Regions from separate parts of the Homo sapiens genome. Here region 2 is linked to region 1. The links are contacts of gene promoters, found by promoter capture Hi-C in blood cells and fetal thymus (Javierre and others, 2016). All regions are on one chromosome and are shown on one strand. Each heading gives the region's core, a stretch centred on a gene start or on the middle of the fragment in contact. The rest is flanking DNA. Distances are from core to core; before and after follow the strand shown. Region 1 holds the start of KRT31 (keratin 31). Region 2 has its middle 15 kb from the start of KRTAP9-2.

Region 1 (3,307 bases), core at 402-2,901:
AAAAACTCTTGCTGTCAAGTAAGAGGTAAGAGCATGTCATGGCCCCTCCCAAGAGAGAGGAAGAATCTCACAAACACTCTTCACCAATACTTTGAAAGAGTAGAGACTCACATTTATAAGGTTTGATATTTTTTTTCTTGGCCTTTGCCAAAAAAAAAAAAAAAAGACTTTACAAAGCAATAACACTGCAATGCTAGGACTCATTCTACAACTATTGATCAACTGCAAGCACATGGAGCTGCTCCGGGCAACTCAAATAATGTGCTAGTTTAAAGTGAAAGATGTTTCCTGTCTGGGAACATGAACAGGTCTTATCTCTCTCCAATTTTTCTCTTACCGTGATGTTTTCAAAGGAAACCCTCAGTCTTGTACTCATACTCTGCATTCTGCTGCCCCAAATCACTAAAGCAACCCTGAGCCAGAGGCTGAGACAGGTTTGTGCATTTCTCATTTCTAGTCTCACCTGCTCATGGTTGCTCTTGAGGCAGAGCAGCTCCTCCTTCAGGGACTCCACCTGGGCCTCCAGGTCGGACTTGCACAGGGTCAGCTCATCCAGGATCCTGCGCAGACCGTTGATGTCCGACTCCACCAGCTGCCGCAGGGACAGCTCGGTCTGGTACCTGCGCAAGGACAGGGTCAGAGTACTACCTGGTAGATCTTCAAGACTCACAGGAATGATTTTTGATAACCTCATGTGCCTTATCTTTCCACTTTCTGTAATGAATAGGCCCAGGAGACAGAGGTTTCTGGAGGCTCCATCAATACCCAATATTCATCCCAAAACAAACAGATTGATGTGAGTCCTCATCCATTTTTGCATTTCTTTGCTTGGTTCTCCCCAGTCCTCTGCAGAATCCTTCACAACAAGTGGGTAGATCTGTTTTCAGATGGAAATCCCTTTTCTTTAAAGATTAAACAGAAGCAATTGACACTAGTGCAAATTCCGAACAACTCACTTGGTTCTGAAATCATCCGCAGCCAGCTTGGCGTTGTCGATCTGCACCACAAGCCTGGCATTCTCAGACTTGGTACACAGGATCTGGGGAGTGAGAGGTGGCTTAGTGAGGACTGAAAATAAATATGAAATCATCAACTTTTTAAAAATGACTTAAGCCATTTTGAAATAAAAGAGGAAGCAAGAATTATGACAGCACAGAAGCAAGAAACACACTTCTCTATCACAGACAGAATCACAGCAAACTCTCTTGCTTGGAGATGACAGCAATGCCGCTCACCTTCTGCTGGAGCTCCTCAATGGTCTTAAAATAGGACTGGTAACTGGGGCACAGCAAGGGCTCCTGCTGCTGAGACCGCTCCCGGATGAGGTTCTCCAGCTCCGCGTTGTCCCGCTCCAGCTGACGCACTTTCTCCAGGTAGCTGGCCAGGCGGTCGTTCAGGAACTGCATAGTCTCCTTCTCGCTACCATTGAAGGAGCCCTCGCAGAACCAGTTGCAGTTGCTCACATTGGCGGGGATGTTGCAGGCCCCGGGCAGGGTGCAGCTGTGGCAGCTGGGGGGCACGCAGGGCCGGGAGGAGCAGCTGGTGCGGCAGCTCAGGCTGGGCAGGCAGAAGTTGTAGGGCATAGTGCTGGGAGGGAGGGAGGGAGTGCCTGGCTGAAGACAGAGTCTAAATTCTCCAAGCCACAGAGCTGTGGGTCTCCTTCCTCTAGGGAGCATTTATATCCCACTGCAGAGGGTGTGGACACAGTATGTAATGTCTTTTTTCTTTTTATTTCTTCACTTCTTTTCAAACGCCCTTTCCTTCAGTCTGTTATTTGCCTTCCTCTGAAGAGTCCCTTCTCCCATAAAATTCTTTACTTGGGCTTCTTGCTAAGTCAGGACTCCTCCGCAGACAGTCCACCCATGAAATCAGAGTTCTGTGGTAGGCCTTCAAAGAGGCTACACAGTCCAGCCCAAGTATCTGCCCTCATTAATTGAGGTGTTGATCCATCCGATGACATTCTTTTGTGTCACATAATTCTGCAGGCCCATAAACATACTCATGTCCTGGTCCACCTGCCGTTTCTAGGGAGAAACACGGATTGATTTGAGGAAGAAGTTGCATTAAGAGGCCACAGTGGACTGTCTTTCCCTCTGCATTTAGAGAAGAATCTTCAAATGATGGAGCATTCTGTGCCTTGGAAGCCTTAAGGTGGATGATTAGAATCAATGGAGGACACGACTGAAAAGATTAGACAGCGATTTGTGTTTTACGGGTCCGTGTAATACTTCCCCCCCACCACCACATATTACTTAAGAAAATTGTAGAGGAGAGAATTTTAAAGGTAGAGGCTTTGATAACTAGTTGGAGAACAAGAAGTTTCTGGGGTAAGAGATCGTTTTGAAAGAGGCTGAAAAGTGCAAACCGAGAGAGCCATAAAAAACACATTTAAGGCTGGGCACAATGGCTCACGCCTGTAATCTCAATACTTTGGGAGGCCGAGGCCGGCGGATCACGAGGTCTAGAGATAGAGACCATCCTGGCCAACATAGTGAAACCCATCTCTACTAAAAATACAAAAAAATTAGCTGGGCATGGTGGCACCCACCTGTAGTCCCAGCTACTCGGGAAGCTGAGGCAGGAGAATCACTTGAACCTGGGAGGTGAAGGTTGCAGTAAGCCGAGATGGTGCCACTGCACTCCAGCCTGGTGACAGAGCAAGACTCCATCTCAAAATACAAAACAAAACAAAAAAAATGCATTTAAATAATCTAGGAAAGATATTCAGGGGCAGAGAGAAAGGAATAAGGAGGTCTTTGTCAAACATTTCCTAAGGTTATCCATAGTATCCGAACAGAGTAGATGGATATGTTAGGAAAGTCAGGAGATAGCCCAAAGGGGCCTCCACGGCCTGAAATCACTTGTAGTTGATCTTTAAACTTCATATGAATTGACCCTATATTCCATAATATATCCATGTTGGCTTTAATCTTTATATATATATATATATATATATTTTTTTTTTTTTTTCAGATGGAGTCTTGCTCTGTCACCCAGGCTGGAGTGCAGTGGAGCGATCTCGGCTCACTGCAAGCTCCGCCTCCCAGATTCATGCCATTCTCCTGCCTCAGCCTCCTGAGTAGCTAGGACTACAGGTGCCCACCACCACGCCCGGCTAATTTTTTGTATTTTTAGTAGAGATGGAGTTTCACCGTGTTAGCAAGGATGGTCTCAATCTCCTGACCTCGTGATCCACCCGCCTCAGCCTCCCAAAGTGCTGGGATTACAGGCGTGAGCCACCGCGCCCAGCCAGCTTTAATGTTTTTAAAAAGCCCCTTTTAAATTTCCAGTTAAACTTTCAAATACT
Region 2 (3,307 bases), core at 349-2,848, 190 kb before region 1:
GCTCCAAGTCTGGGGGGTACTTGCAGCACAAAGAAAACCCAGAGAACCCCACCTTATTGTTCCTTAAGTCCTGAGGCTTCTAGCCTGGCTGCTTTCTTCACTCCACCTTTCAGAGTCCTCTCGTGTTTGCTTTATATATAATATCCAGAATTTTTAGTTGTACTTAGCAGAAAGAATATGGAAAAGTCTGTCCACTCCATCTTCCCAGTCAGCAAATCTTCAACTGGGTTTTAACTAAACATAATAAATGCATTTAAAGACATAAAGGAAGCTATTACCAATATAGACAAATACAAAAACACACACACACACAACATGAATAAGAACCAACCAGAGACTATCCTGCAACGGCATTAACATTTTGGTTTTGATCATTGGGCTGTGACAAGAAACACACACTGAAGTACATAGGGATAAAGTGGTATTTAGTGATAAAGGGAAATTCTATCTGCAACTTACTTTTAAAAACCAACAGTAGTAACACATATATGTATAGAAATAATGTTAAAGAAGCATGGTAAAATGTTAACATTTGAGGAATCCAAGTGAAGGCATATGGGAATCCTTTGTACTGTGTTTACAATTTTCTATGAGTATGAAATTATTTCAAAATGAAAAATTAATAAAAACAAACATGTATAATGGGGTAGGAGACACAAGCAGGCATAATATCTGATACTAAATTAATAATAGAGCATATAGTCATTAAAGTACACAATAAGTGAGATAAGCTGCAGAAGATATACTGACTTGGAAGACCAAAATGGAAGAATCTCTAATGTTAAGGAAAAAATGTGTAACTCAATTATAATGAAAATATTACATATCAAGACTTGTGGGGTGTTATAAAATGATCTTTGATAAAATGTACACACTTTAAATAGCCTTTAATATTTAAATATTAAACAAGAATAAAACCTAAAAATAAATGAACTAAGTGTTCACCTAAGTGAATAAGAAAAAGGAAAACAACCAAAATAGCATAAAATGTAAATCAATGAACTAGTTAAAAACGACATCACAGAGAAGATGAACAAAGCCAAAATTTCTTTTTCAAAAAAAATACCAATAAATGATAAGCCATTGAAAAGATTGATCAAGAAATGTAAAGAAGACACAAATAAATAATATTCTGGATGAAAATGAGAACATATCCAGCAATAAAGCTGAAAATGTTCCATAATCAAAGGAATCATAATCAAACCTGTTTCCAGTATTTACATGGAAAAGTATTTACATGGAAAAGATGAACTTGGATTCTGATCACTCATCATGTAGGAAAAAAATCAATTCCAGGTGTATCAATATCTTGAAGGTCAAAAAAAATCTTAAATCCTCACTAGATGATTTATGTGATTTTTTTTATTTTTAGGTAGATAAATACCTCCTGACCAAGACAAAAATATTATTATTCGAAAAGAAATGACTGATAATTTTAACTGGATAAAGCTTTAGAAAACTTAACCATCAAAAATCACATTTCAGACTGAGAGAAGGAATTGTGATAAACCCCTTTAACGCCTATCTCTCCTCTGCTCTCTATGTGGACTCTATTTCTTCTGGCATTTGGCCATAACAGCTGCAGCTGCTGCAGCAGGTGGACTGGCAGCAGGATGTGCTGCAGCAGCAATTTTGAAAACATACAAACCCATGTGTTTCTTTTTTTACCCCATGTGTCTTCCTTCAAGGATCATAACCCAAAGCTGATTGTCATCCAATATCTGCAAACAGTTGTTTTATATATTTACAAAGCTTTTATTATTGTTTATAGCAGGAGGATAAATCTTATACTAGCTTCTACATTACAGGTGGCATCACAAGCCCTCCCTAAACTTGGTTTTTAACTCATCACCATGACTCAACATCATCCTATCTTCAGAGGTACTTTCCAAAGTAAATAGCAATAAGGAAAAACAGATGGTGACTAACAATTGTCCTGACATCTCACTAAGCTACATAGGACCTGTTAGATGACCAAATACTGTACTCAGCTTTAAAAATGAGGATCAGTGCTTAATTGGTAGGGAGAATGATTCATTTCTCAGTTCAGGAAAATAGTCCTGACTGGTTATTTGTCAATTAAGAAAGCAAATAAATCAATTACTCAAAGAAAATTCACAGCACTGAATAGACAACTTCCTCCTTGGGACATTTCCCAAAAGACTAGAGAAGTATCAAAGACAAGTTCTGCTCATTAATCAAAACTTTGGGGTACCATGTATAAAAGGTTCAGATTGAATAACGTTATCAAACTCTAGGAAACTCACCTCTGAACAGGAGTGCACCCTCCACCCCTGACGCCATGACCCACTGCTGCTCCCCTTGCTGCCAGCCTACGACGTGCTGCAGGACCACCTGCTGTGTGTCCAGCTGCTGCCAGTCTTGTTGCCACCCCCCCAGTTGCTGCAACACATCCTGCTGCCAACCTAGCTGCTGTGCACCCGTCTACCAGAGAACGTGCTACCATTCCATGTGTGTCTGCCTGCCTAGTTGCCTAGACCAGATATGTGGATCCAGCTGCTGCCAGCCCTGCTGCCTGCTGCCCAGCCTACTGTGAGGCCACCTGCTGCAGGACCACTTGCTGCCAGTACACCTGTGTGACAAGCTGCTGCCAGTCTTCCTGCTGCAGCACACCCTGCTGCCAGCCCACCTGCTGTGGGTCCAGCTGTTACGGCCAAACTGGCAGTGGGTCCAGCTGCTGCCAGCCCAGCTTCTGTGCACCCATCTACTACAGGAGAACTTGCTACCACCCCATGTGTGTCTGCCTGACAGGTTGCCTAAACCAGAGCTATGGATCCAGCTGCTGCTAGCCCTGCTGCCAATCAGCCTGTTGTGTGTCTAGGGGCTGCCAGCCTTGCAGTTATTGATCAACTTACCACAGATTACTACCTGCATAGAATAAACTTCCATCATCAGACCAGCCAGGTATCCATTTATTCTTTTTTTTTTTTTTTTTTTTTTTGAGACCCAGTTTCGCTCTTGTTGCCCAGGCTGGAGTGCAATGGCATGATCTTAGCTCACCGCAACCTCCACCTCCTGGGTTCCAGCCATTCCCCTGCCTCAGCCTCCCGAGTAGCTGAGATTACAGGCATACGCCATCATGCCCAGCTAATTTTGTATTTTTCGTAGAGATGGGGTTTCTCCATGTTGGTCAGGCTGGTCTCAAACACCTGACCTCAGATGATCCACCCGCCTTGACCTCCCAAAGTGCTGGGATTACAGGCATGAGCCACCACGCCCAGGCCAGATATCCATTTCTATGGCAAACTCACTCCACTTCCTCTGCTGATAACATACATACTGTCAC

Evidence for each region. The method cuts DNA at HindIII sites, captures the fragments that hold promoters and counts their contacts. A CHiCAGO score of 5 or more calls a contact.
Region 2: a fragment that was not itself captured here is called in contact with the fragment with the promoter of KRT31 in region 1 in 1 of 17 cell types (total CD8 T cells); the score reaches 5.7 in total CD8 T cells.

What each region holds. Positions count from the first base shown.
Region 1 is chr17:41,395,957-41,399,263 of GRCh38, forward strand. It overlaps KRT31 (keratin 31), which reads right to left and starts at 1,652. Exons shown (of 7, transcript NM_002277.3): 1 at 1,236-1,652; 2 at 957-1,039; 3 at 464-620. The coding sequence starts at 1,583. The HindIII fragment of the contact is 10,261 bases long and covers 1-3,307 here.
Region 2 is chr17:41,210,404-41,213,710 of GRCh38, forward strand. It overlaps the pseudogene KRTAP9-12P. Among named protein-coding and RNA genes, the nearest start is that of KRTAP9-2, 15 kb to the right of the region's middle. The HindIII fragment of the contact is 303 bases long and covers 1,448-1,750 here.